Linked DNA regions of Homo sapiens: region 2 is linked to region 1. The links are contacts of gene promoters, found by promoter capture Hi-C in human tissues and cell types (Jung and others, 2019). All regions are on one chromosome and are shown on one strand. The core of a region is centred on a gene start or on the middle of the fragment in contact, and the rest is flanking DNA. Distances in the headings are between cores, read along the strand shown.

Region 1 (6,057 bases), core at 3,351-5,850:
AATCCCAGCACTTTAGGAGGCCAAGGTGGGCGGATCACCTGAGGTCAGGAGTTCGAGACCAGCCTGACCAACACGGAGAAACCCCATCTCTACTAAAAATACAAAAAAAATTAACCGGGCATGGTGGCACATGCCTCTAATCCCTGTAATCCCAGGACTTTGGGAGGCCAAAGCAGGCGAATCGCTCGAACCCGGGAGGCAGAGGTTGCAGTGAGCCGAGATCACGCCATTGCACTCCAGCCTGGGCAAAATTCCATCTCAAAAAAAAAAAAAAGACAGACATCCAAGTTGTAACCCCTGGAATCTGTGAAGGTGACCTTATTAGGAAATAGGGTCTTTGCAGATAAGGATCTTGAGATGAGATCATCCTAGATATAAAGTGGGCCCTAAATCCAATGCCCAGTGTCCTTATAAGAAAAGAACAGCTGGGGCCGGGCACGGTGGCTCAAGCCTGTAATCCCAGCACTTTGGGAGGCCAAGGTGGGCAGATCACGAGGTCAGGAGATGGAGACCATCCTGGCTAACACGGTGAAACCCCGTCTCTACTAAAAATACAAAGAATTAGCCGGGCGTGGTGGCGGGCGCCTGTAGTCCCAGCTACCCGGGAGGCTGAGGCAGGAGAATGGCCTGAACCCAGGAGGCAGAGCTTGCAGTAAGCGGAGATCGCGCAATTGCACTTCAGCCTGGGTGACAGAGCCAGACTCCGTCTCAAAAAAAAAAAGAAAAGAAAAGAACAGCTGAGGTGGGAGGATCACTTGAGCCTAGGAGTTCGAGACCAGCCTATAACACGGCGAGACTCCATCTCACTTTAAAAAAAAAAGGAAAAAAGAGGACACAAGACACAGGAGTGAAGACAGACGCAGGGACTTGGGTTTCGCTGCTGCAAATCAAGCAACAGCTGGATCCACTGCAATCTGGAAGATGCAAGGATTTTCCTGTAGAACCTCTCCAGGGATTGTGGCCCTGCCAGTACCATGATTTCAGACTTCTGACCATGAACTGAGAGAGAATCCATTCCTGTTGTCTTAAACCAAAAATCTGTCATAATTTGTTATTGCAGCCATGGGAAATTAATACACCCAGCACTGATCACCTCCAACTCCAGAACCCATGCTTTTTTTTTTTTTTTCAGACAGGGTCTTGCTCTGTCACCCAGGCTGACATGCAGTGGTGCAATCTCAGCTCACTGTAACCTCTGCTTCCCTGGTTCAAGCGATCCTCCCACCTCATCCTCCGGAGTAGCTGGGACTACAGTCGCAGGTACCACCACACCTGGCTAATTTTTGCATTTTTAGCAGAGACGAGATTTTGCCATGTTGGCCAAGCTGGTCTCAACCTCCTGACCTCAAGTGATTCGCCTGCCTCAACCTCTCAAAGTGCTGGGATTACAGGTGTGAGCCACCACGCCTGGCCAAGAACCCATGTTTTTTATCTCCATATCAATGTTACTTAAGGATAAAGAGGGCGGTGCGGTGGCTCATGCCTGTAATTCCAGGACTGTGGGAGGCCAAGGAGGGAGGATCACTTGAGCCCAGGAGTTTGAGACCAGCCTGGCCAACACAGTGAAAACCCTTTCTCTACAAAAAATATGAAAGATTAGCTGGGTGTGGCACATGCCTGTGGTCCCAGCTACTAGGGAGGCTGAGGTATGAGGATCACTTTAGCCATGGAAGGCTGCAGTGAGCTGAGACTGAGACTGTACCACTGCACTCCAGTCTGAGCAACAGAGTGAGGCCCTGTCTGAAAAAATAAAAAATAAAAATAAAAAAAATAAAAAAGAAAGAAAAAAAACAAAAAAGTGTAAAAAAAAATTATTTCAGAACCCTAAGGATATATCATCTGGGAATCTGGGACTGAGGCTCTCTGAGGAATGTGGACTTTCTCCTTTTTATGAATGTTTCCGGTCAGGTGGGGTGGCTCACACCTGTAATCCCAGCATTCTGGGAGGCAGGAAGATCACTTGAGCTCAGAAGTTGGAGACCAGCCTGGGCAACACAGTGACATAGTGAAACCTTGTCTCTAATAATAAAAAATGTTTCAGTTACCAATTACCTCTCAAAGAGAAGTGCTGTCTTAATAACAAGTAATACTTTCAAGAGTATCAACAAAACAAAAACAAAAACACAAATACAAACACAAAATGTTACTCCAGGAATAAGATGGTAGGAACATCTCACTATGTTGCCAATACATCTATAAGACTAAAATTGTTCTGGCCGGGCGGGGTGGCTCATGCCTGTAATCCCAGCACTTTGGGAGGCCAAGGCGGGTGGATCACGAGGTCAGGAGATCAAGACCATCCTGGCTAACATGGTGAAACCCCGTCTCTACTAAAAACACAAAAAATTAGCCGGGCATGGCGGCAGGCGCCTGTAGTCCCAGCTACTCGGGAGGCTGAGGCAGGAGAATGGCGTGAACCCAGGTGGCAGAGCTTGCAGTGAGCCGAGATTGAGCCACTGCACTTCAGCCTGGGGGACCGAGCAAGACTCTGTCTCAAAAAAAAAAAAAAAAAAAAAAAAAAAAAAAAACTAAACTAAAATTGTTCTAAAAAAAATTTTTTTTTTGAGATGGAGTCTCACTCTGTCTCCCCGGCTGGAGTGCAATGGCACGATCTCAGCTCATTGCAACCTCTGCCTCCCAGGTTCAAGTGATTCTCCTGCCTCTGCCTCCCGAGTAGCTGGGACAGGCACATGTCACCACACCCCGCTGTTTTGTATTTTTAGTAGAGACGGGGTTTCACCATGTTGGCCAGGCTGGTCTCGAACTCCTGACCTCAAGTGATCCTCCCAAAGTGCTTAGCCTCCCAAAGTGCTGAGCTACCCCGCCTGGTCCTAAAAAAATTTTTTAAAGGTTTACTTAAAAATGATAGCCAACTCTCCTGGAACTCCTTTGAGGATAAGCCCTGGGACCCTAGTTTTGGAAACGCTGCCCCGCTTTGTTCTGTTCAGGACAAAGTTGGCTACCAATGCTTGCCCAGTGAATAGGTTTTGCTTATGATCTGGGGTTCTGTTGAGCTGAGTGTCTGCCTTGAACTCTGAAACCCCCGCTGAAATACCCTCCTTCCCCTCTCATCTGGTCCAAGAAGACCCAGGCTCTGCACCAGCAAAAAGAGACGGCACCCTCGGACAGCAGACACAACTCCTTTAGTCCACGTTTTCAAAGTCGAGGTGCAGGGAAAACCCAGTGTGAACGGACTGCTCCTCGGGCTTTCCTTTAATCGGGCCGTTTCCAAAGTGGCAAAAAATTCACACAGGACCCAAGCTAGCTAGAGGCCTCCTGAGGGGTTCCCCAGGGCATCAGTGCAAGAAGCCCTGAAAGACAAAGCCAAATGACACAGAGTAGCAAAATGTGAACAAGGAATCAAAGAGAAGAGATAAGAAGGAGTAACAAGAAGAAGAATGAACTACAAAGACTGGGAGCGGGGGTGGGGGGTGCTGGCAAACGCATTTGTGATTTTCTTTTCCCCCCAGTGAAATGTCAGTTTTGAAAGCAGCTTCGGAAAATGTAACCAGCTTCTCACATCCCCCAAAAGAAGATGGGAGGAGGCTGTTAGCTCTTACTTCGAAGCCCGGCATCAGGAAGGGGCCCGTCCCGTCCACGTTTCCACGAGGAGCTCACCCTGCGGCTCCCACCGTCCCCGCATGGGCCCTCTCCCCAGATCCTGAAGTTTCCCATTCGGGGGTCCTGAACGCCACACCTCGCACAGCGGTGGAACTCGGTACTCGCGGGCGCCCCAGACCAGCAAACACTTTCCAACCGTCCTGAGCTATCCAGGGGGTCCCCAGAGGGATCCCGGGCCGCCCACGCCCCACCCTCCTCCCTGCAGAGGCGGCCACGCCCGCCCCCGAGACGCCCACCTCTCCCGCACCCCGGACCTCCCTCCCCCACGCTTAAGCCCACCACGCCTGGCGTCCTCCAAATTCCCCTTCCACTCAGAGCCCCCCACTTCCTGCTCACCCACCCCTCCCAAATCTCAGGCCCTTCACTCCCCATTTCGCGCTCCCTTGCTCACTCTGGGCACCTTGCCCCTCCGGCCACCACGCACGCCCTCTTTTCTCTGTCTGTCCCCTGGCACCGGCCCTCCACGGTCGCTCCCTGCAGGCCACCGGCTCAGTCCCGGGGACCCCACGCCAGGCCCCCGCGCTCAGGGCCCCTCCCCGCCGGCCCCCGCCCCGGGCCGGCCTCGTGAGCAGCCCCGGCCCTGCGCCTGCCCCGGGGCCCCGTACTCACGGCTGTAGAGGGCGATGCCCGCCGAGTCCGGGCCGGCGCGCACCTCGAGGCGCAGCGCCTGCTGCTCCGCGTGCCGCTGGATCTCGCCGTTCGCGTCGCCGATGGTGAGGAGGCGGGCGCCGGGGAACACCGACACGGTAGCGCAGGGCCCCGCGCCGCCCGGGACCGCCGACCCCGCGCCGCCCGCGCCCGGCCCCACCGCCGCCGCCGCCGCTGCCATCTTAGATCCGGCTCCAGGCCCCGCCGCCGCCGCCGCTGCGCCCGGGCCCAGGCCGCCGCCGCTGCCGCCGCCGCCGCCGCCGCCGCCGCCGCCGCCGCCGCCGCCGCCGCCGCTGCCGCTACCGCCGCCGCAGCCGCCGTGCAGGCCGAGGCCGAGCCGGGCAGCGCCGCCTGCCGGCCACGCGCCGCCTCGCCGCCGCCGCCGCCACCGTCGCCGCGGCCCGGCCCCGTGGCGCAGCGCCCTCTGCCGGCCGTCCTGGGCGCGGGGAGCTAGCGAGCGAACGAGAGGGCACCCCGTGGGGCGGGACCGGCTACGCCCCGCCCCGCGAGAACGGTCGCCGCTTTGTGAGGTGGCTCCACCGCCCGGGAACTGCGGGGCGGGAGGGTACGTCGGGGGCGGTGCTCGGGCGCGCGGGCACGCCCCTCGGAGGCCTGGGCCCCGCCCCCAGGCCGGCGCCTCATTAACGGCTGCTTTCGAGTGAGGCGGTGCGGGGACGGCGGGGGCGGTGCTCGGCCGCGTGGACACGCCCTGTACCCCGCCCCACACAAGCAGCCGCGCGTCGTGATGCGGCTTCCCTGCCCCGACCTGGACACGCCCCTGAGACTGGGCCCCACCCCCCCGGGCCCGCCCGGCTTTGTGAGGCAGCCCTCAGGGAGGCGTGGCCCAGCCGCGACGAGGCCCCGCCCCCGTGCCTGCCCGCGCCCTCCCACCCGGACTCGCTTTGTCAGCCGCCCCGCTCTGGGGAATGGGCGGGGGAAAGGGCGTGGCCAGCGCCCGGGCCTCGCCCCCAACCCTTCCCCCCACCGCCCCCGCACCGACGATTTCCGATGAGCCCTGGCCTCCAGGAGCAACCTGAGCCCGGTTGAAAGGACCCCTCCCCGACATTCGACCGCTCCTCCTCCCTTCCCCATCATCTCTGCCCACATTGCCTTCTTAATCCTTAATGTTTGACTGTCTCCTTTCGCACAAGATATCCTTTGACCCCCTCCTCTCTCAGCCCCTCCTCCAACGATGCTGAGTCCAGCCTGGCCCGGCGCAGGGCCCCTCTCCCGCCACACAAACCCGTCTTCTCTCTGCATCCCCCTTCATTTTGGGTGGCCCCATCTCTTTTGGGCGACCCAGTGAGCTTGGGCCACTTCCTAGCACTCCAGCTTTAACTCTTCCCTAGACCTCATTTACGCCTCATTCCTTTTTTTTTTTTTTTTTTTTCTTTGAGACGGAGTCTCGCTCTGTCTCCCAGGCTGGAGTGCAATGGCTCGATCTCAGCTCACCGCAACCTCCGCCTCCCGGGTTCAAGTGATTCTCCTGCCTCAGCCTCCCGAGTAGCTGGGACTACAGGCATGCTCTACCACGCCCAGCTAATTTTTTATTTTTAGTAGAGACGAGGTTTCACCATGTTGGTCAGGCTGGTCTTGAACTCCTGACTTCAGGTGATCCGCCCGCCTCGGCATCCCAAAGTGCTGGGCCTACAGGCATGAGCCACCGCGCCCGGCCCCTTTTGTTTTTTGAGACAGGGTCTCACTGTGTTGCCCAGGCTAGAGTGCAGTGGTGCCATCATAGCTTACTGCAGCCTCAACCTCCTGGGCTCAAGCAACCCCCTGCCTCGG
Region 2 (6,486 bases), core at 2,369-4,868, 1.1 Mb before region 1:
AGTCTCGCTCTGTCGCCCAGGCTGGAATGCAGTGGCGGGATCTCGGCTCACTGCAAGCTCCGCCTCCCGGGTTCACGCCATTCTCCTGCCTCAGCCTCCCAAGTAGCTGGGACTACAGGCGCCCGCCACTACGCCCGGCTAATTTTTTGTATTTTTAGTAGAGACGGGGTTTCACCGTTTTAGCCGGGATGGTCTCGATCTCCTGACCTCGTGATCCGCCCGCCTCGGCCTCCCAAAGTGCTGGGATTACAGGCGTGAGCCACCGCGCCCGGCCCAGAGACTACTTTCTCACACAAAGATTTCATGGCTATCAGATTGTCTTCAGATGGAATGTTAAATTCACTCTTAAATTGAAAAGGAAATAAAAACCAGCTAGAAAGAAAAGAAAACAAGCTCTGGGGGAAAAAAGTAAACCATTACGAATTAAGTTGTTAGCCAGGTGCAGTGGCTGATATCTGTATCTGTAATCCCAGCACTTTTGGAGGCCAAGGAAGCAGGACTGTTTGAGGCCAGGAGCCAGAGACCAGCCTGGGCAACATAACGAGACCTAACCTCTGTAAAAAATAAAAAATTAGCCAGGTGTGCTGGTGGGCAATTGTAGTCTTAGCTACTTGAGAGGCGGAGGTGCTTGAGCTGGGGAGGTCAAGGCTGCAGTAAGCCATCATCGCACCACTGCTCTAGGCTGGGTCACAGAGCAAGATACTGTCTCAAAAAAAAAAAAAATTGTTGTATCTCATACATCAGCCTTCTATGGAAAACATAATCCTGTTACATTTATTTGCCTTTTGCCTATACAAGTGTTAGGGAAGCAGGTGCCTAGGGGAGCCAGAGTAACACCAATTTAAGTTCAGCTCCATCTTGACACTAACAAGAAACACTCCTTGTCAGTCACAACCCATGATCACAAAATGTTTCCCATGAAGAAAACAGCCTGAAGATGCCTGCAAGTATCCTTACACTCCCACAACAATAGAATGTCCTGATGTCCCAATACCTATAACAATATGTGCTTTCAAGATAATTATAGTTATGTTTTAATGCACTTGGGTGCTAAAATGTAAAGGATAGTTTTCTTTAAATCAACAGAGTAATAAATTTTGTGATGCTGTCAGCCCACATGCACATAGGCACAGGTAGTTTATTCTTTACATAGAAAAGATCCCTACATAAGAAAAACTTAAAGACAGTACGTTCCTCCACTTGCTGTATGAGGATGCCCTACTCTGAAACAGAGAAGCTTTTTCTTTCTTTTTCCTTTTCTATTTATTTATTTATTTATTTATTTATTTATTTATTTATTTAAATAGAGACAGGGTCTCGCTGTGTTGGCCAGGTTGGTCTTGACCTCTTTCCTGTTTGTTTTGGTTTTTGAGATGGGGTCTCACTCTGTTACCCACACTGGAGTGCAGTGGTACATCCTCGGCTGGGCTGCAACCTCTGCCTCTGGGGTTCAAGTGATTCTCTCACATCAGCCTCCTGAACACCTGGGACTACAGGTGCAGGCCACCACACCCGGCTAATTTTTGCTAGTTTTGGAAGAGATGGGGTTTCACTATGTTGCCCAGGCTGGTCTCGAACTCCTGACCTCAAGTTATCCTCCCACCTTGGCCTCCCAAAGTGCTTGGATTACAGGCCTAAGCCATCATGCTGGCCCAGAGTAGCTTTCAATAAACTCTCTTCTCACTGCACTTTGTGACTCGTCTTGAATTCCTTCCTGTGTGAGATTCAAGAACTCTCCTGGGGTCTGATCAGGACCTCTTTTCCTGGTAATACAAGCAAGAACTTAACTTCCAGTTTTGGAGTACTGAGTCTATTTCCCTAGAGTCTGTGTTTTTCCCAAATGGGCCACTGCTATCCTTCCGCTTGAATAAACTCTTCCAACTGAAATCTTGACCTTTCTATTATTTCGGAGTGACAAGTCCAAATAAGGCAACTGCATCTCTGCAACCAATCAAGCATTTATCTGGTTTGTCTCCTCACGTAACTTATAAAAGCTTACCCCTAAACTGGTAAACTAAAAATAAAAACATACCTCTGGCCCGGCGAGATGGCTCACATCTGTAATCCCAGCACTTTGGGAGGCTGAGGTGGGTGGATCACTTGAGGTCAGGAGTTCGAGACCAGCCTGGCCAACATGGTGAAACCCCATCTCTACTAAAAATACAAAAATTAGGAGGGCATAGTGGTGCATGCCTGCAATCCCAGCTACTCAGGAGGCTGAGGCAGGAGAATCACTTGAACCCGGAAGGTGGAGGTTGCAGTGAGCCGAGATCAGGCCATTGCACTCCAGTCTGGGCGACAGGAGACTCCGTCTCAAATAAAAACAAAGTACCTTTCCAGCTAAGTGAAGTGACCGGCTCTTGGCCAACAGGACCCGCAAAAAACCCTGAAAATTGAGTGCCTCTGTATGACAGGATGGGAGGTGAGACAGGTCTCCTTATACCCTCTCCCACACATTCATGTAAAAATAGATAGAATGGAAAAACAGACTGCTTGTGGCAAGAAGATACTAACTTACAAACAAAACCTAAGGCCACGCAAGGCAAAAGTAAAGTCACGCCTCAGAATTCATAAAATCTAGAGAAACAGGTCTGTTTTCTGGCTGGGATGGAATCAAGTGGCAGATAACAGACCCCCTTCCTTCCTACCTCCTCCAAACTTTAGACAAACTTCACACTCTCAACCAGCTGCCACCTACAGAATCCCTCAACCACCTGTGCCTTCTAACCCCCCTTCCACAGGTCCCACCCTTTCTGCCAATGGAACTTACACCTTTCAGGCACTGATTCATCATTTTCCCTGCAATTCCTGTCTCTCTGAAATGAATAAAACCAAACTGTCTTGAGCCGCCTCGGGACCACTTACTCCAGGCTGCTTGGGGTTGTGTTTCCCTCGGCCAAGGTCTCTCCTATTCGGCTCTGAATAAACTTCTTTATTTTACATAGTTTGGCTTTTTCCGTTGACAAACCACAACCCAGGACGGGGTGTTTCTCATTCGTGAATCGCTGTTTGCTCAAATGAACTCTTTAATTGTTAACGTACCTCAGTTTAATTTTTAACAGGAGAAAGTGGGGACTGGGGGCCCCACAGACCACTGCTCCTCCCACGCACGAACCCCACACCCGAGTCAGGATGCCTCCATGACCCTCCCGTTGCTTCCGCACAATCTGGGGAGACGCGGGGCTGCGGGAGCGGAACTGCCCAGAGAGGGCTCCGGGGCAGGGGCCGCGGCCGCAGTCGCCGCGCAGGGACGGGACAGGACGCCCGGGTCCTGGCTGCTGGCCCAGCCCCGTCCAGCGGCCAAGGGGACCGAGGGCCGAACTGCTCAAGGAGGACTCGGTCCCAGACCCCGGAGTCGCCCACAGGGAGGCCCGGGTCCCGCCACAGCCGGTTCCCGCCTGTTCCAGGCAGCCCCTCCCCCGTCTCACGACATCTGGTCCCGCACACGCACCATTTCCCGGCTTTCAGATGTACCGGGGTCCTCTCTACAGCTCCTGTGACTACAGCAGGGCATAGCGCAGGCGACAGAGCGACAGAAGCCTGGGTACAGGCACCAGGTCCCTCTCGGGCTGGTCTGACCGGTTACCAACCGCCGCCCGCGCAGCGAGGAAGGTGAGGAAAGCGACCCCCTCCATTTCCGGATGAACTGTGGGCAGTGCCACGCCCCAGCACCTCTGATTGGATGAAATACTAGGTCCCGCCCCCCACATCTGAGTGACAGCTGAAGCCCTGGGTATCAGGCCCCGCAGAGCCAGACTGACGGATTCTAGCCACAGCTTCTCTAAGGGCGAGCTGCTTTCTGCACTCTGGTTATTGGATATTTGCATTTCAGCCAAACTTGCTATTGATAGAAGAGAACACTAGCGTCATCCTCACTCAAGGGACAGTCCCCGCTCCTTCGTTCTGCACGGGGTCACAGGAGTGTGCAGGGAATTTCAGACTCAGTGTCCATAGGAGCCAACTGCTGGCCTCAGAGCAGCAGGGGAACCGAGACCAGGCCAGGCACGACTGCACCAGGAGGAGAGGCATATGTCCTCGAGCGGGCCGGAATTGGGGATGAGGCGTGGCCAAGCCTTGCTCACACACCCCCATCCCCTTGTGAAAATGCTTCCTCCTTTCAGATCTTCATTTTCACCAGCAGGAAACTCTCACCAGGTTTTGTTTCTGACCTAAGTAAACTGTCAACTTCATGAACCCTTTATCCAGGTGACGCCACCAAACAATTCTGTCTCTAGCTCTAGCCTGATCTTCACACATTTTCTTTTCTTTCTTTCTTTTTTTTTTTTTTTTTTTGAGACGGAGTCTTGCTCTGTAGCCCAGGCTGGAGTGCAGTGGTGCGATCTCGACTCACTGCAAGCTCCGCCTCCCGAGTTCACGCCATTCTCTTACCTCGGCCTCCGGAGTAGCTGGGATTAAAGGCGCCCGCCACCACGCCCGGCTAATATTTTGTATTTTCAGTGGAGACGGGGTTTCACCGTGTTAGCCAGGATGGTCTCGATCTTCTGACCTCTTGATCCGCCCGCCTCGGCCCCGCAAAGTGCTGGGATTACAGGCGTGAGCCACCGCGCCCGGCCACACATTTTCTTTATCTATACAAATAACTCTGACCCCAACGACCCCATGCATGTCAAACCCCAAACCCTGCCCAGAAGACAGCTCCAGAGGTACAACACCAGAAAGGACAGAGACGCCACAAATGCGTCTGCACATGGGTCTTCTGCTTTCCAGGGCTCTGCAGCTTCTCGGAATCCACACCCTTTCTGGAGCTGCTCTGAGCAGCTGGAGGCCACTTGTAGAAGGGGGTGGGCTGCCCGCGAAGCCCCCAGGGAAACTCTCTTTCCCTCCCTTTGCAGGCTGCAGAGACTGTCCTCAACGTGGAATCACTGGCCTTGGGCTCTGCTGCCCCCTGCAGGTTATTCAGCTACTTCTCACCCCATCGATTAGTTTCGCGAGACAAACACCTTCAATCCCATTGTGTAAATAAGACACCAGCAGAGTCCCTGCTCTCCTCCTATGCTTATGTATAAAGTGGGGGAGGAAAAATCTAAGATAACTTAAGGGCATTTGAAAGACTTCCAGATCGCGGTGGAGGTGGCAGCTGAGGGACTCGCAGTCAATGACACTGCAGCACCTCCAGGCCAGGCTGGTGGGAGAGAGGGTGGAGAGCTGGAGATGGATGTGGATAGGTGGAGGGAGCTGCCCTGGGAACTGGGCTCTGCAGCAGTGCGGCTCTAGGGCCCGGAGCCCGGGAGAGCAGAGATGGGGGCTCCCAGGACAGGAAACTCAGGGAGGAGAGAGTCGGGTGGCTTCCATGGGACGGGGTGCTGTTGCAGCTTGTGTGAGCCAGTAGCTATCATAACTAAGCCCAATCGGGACGTGAAAACTTGGATTCCGTGGGAATTTATGAAGAGGAAGGCTCTGATGACAAAGAAGTCATCGATGAGGAGGGGGATGAGGGTCACTGGCAAGCTTGCTTCCTTATGGAAAGAAAAGTGAACACCCAACTACTGCTGCAAAATGGGATCAAAGGATGAGACTCTCGCTGTCAGGGAATAAACTGCTGCAGAACTCTTAGAGATTGCAAAGACCTTTCAACAACAGCCTGGGAGGCCAGGTGCCATGGCTCATGCCTGCAATCCCAACATTTTGGGAGGCCAAAGTGGCAGGATCACTTGAAGCCCGAAGTTGAAGACCACCCTGAGCAGTGAAGTGAGACACTCCCATCTCCATAAATCTATTTTTTAATTAGCCAGGAGAGGTGGTGTGTACCTGTAATCACAGCTACTCAGGAGGCTGAGGCAGGAGGATCACTTGAGCCCCAAAGTTTGAGGCTGCTGTGAGCTGTGATCAGGTTACTGAACTTCAGCAAGACACTGTCTCAAAAAAAAAAAAAATCAAAAACAAAAAAACCCATAAAAAGCCCACCAGACTCCCCGGGGAAACCCTGACCCCCTTGGATGGTCTAATTGTAAAACACAGCAGGTGGTATTTCCTTATGGACTGGATCATTCTGGCCACATAAGAGGCTTGGCCTACTGAGGATTTACCAGGCGGATGACCTCCTTGCAGTCAATGGAAAAGGCCCCTGGTGAAACCATCCCTTTAAACTTTATCAAATTCATCAGGGAGGATGGGAGGAGAAAACTTAAACCAAGCTGCAGAACCTTCAGCATTAATCATTAAGTCAGCTTGTTCCCTGAACTTCCTCATATTTGCTTCATACCTAGTGTCCTAGAATCCCATTGTTGTGGTAAACTGAGGAAGGAGAGACCAATATGGAGTACAGGAGGATTTGTTTATATTTTAGGTACGCACTGGCTCAGACGATTCATATCCAAAAAGCTGAGGACTGAACGAAGACAAAGTGGGGTTTTTATACGCTGTCTTACAGATGCCAAACAAAAGCAGTTAATCATACAGTGACAGGTCATGTAATCTATAGCATAACATAATTTATGACCTTGCATAGCCAGTGTCCTTGTAGCT

What was found. The method cuts DNA at HindIII sites, captures the fragments that hold promoters and counts their contacts. A contact is called where the count stands out against the background at its distance.
Region 2: a contact is called between the fragment with the promoter of ZNF700 here and the fragment with the promoter of CARM1 in region 1, in 1 of the 25 tissues and cell types used here (pancreas).

The regions. Positions count from the first base shown.
Region 1 is chr19:10,870,096-10,876,152 of GRCh38, reverse strand. It overlaps CARM1 (coactivator associated arginine methyltransferase 1), which reads right to left and starts at 4,600. Exons shown (of 16, transcript NM_199141.2): 1 at 4,231-4,600. The coding sequence starts at 4,450. RefSeq lists enhancers at 852-1,352, 1,353-1,853, 2,391-2,510, 3,151-3,330 and silencers at 4,071-4,280, 4,371-4,420, 4,551-5,340. The HindIII fragment of the contact is 23,799 bases long and covers 1-6,057 here.
Region 2 is chr19:11,922,239-11,928,724 of GRCh38, reverse strand. It overlaps ZNF700 (zinc finger protein 700), which reads right to left and starts at 3,618. Exons shown (of 4, transcript NM_144566.3): 1 at 3,452-3,618. The coding sequence starts at 3,514. It also overlaps a transcript of ZNF69 not described here. RefSeq lists a silencer at 3,156-3,355 and enhancers at 3,746-3,855, 3,906-3,955, 3,403-3,975, 4,132-4,921, 4,922-5,712. The HindIII fragment of the contact is 4,963 bases long and covers 1,617-6,486 here.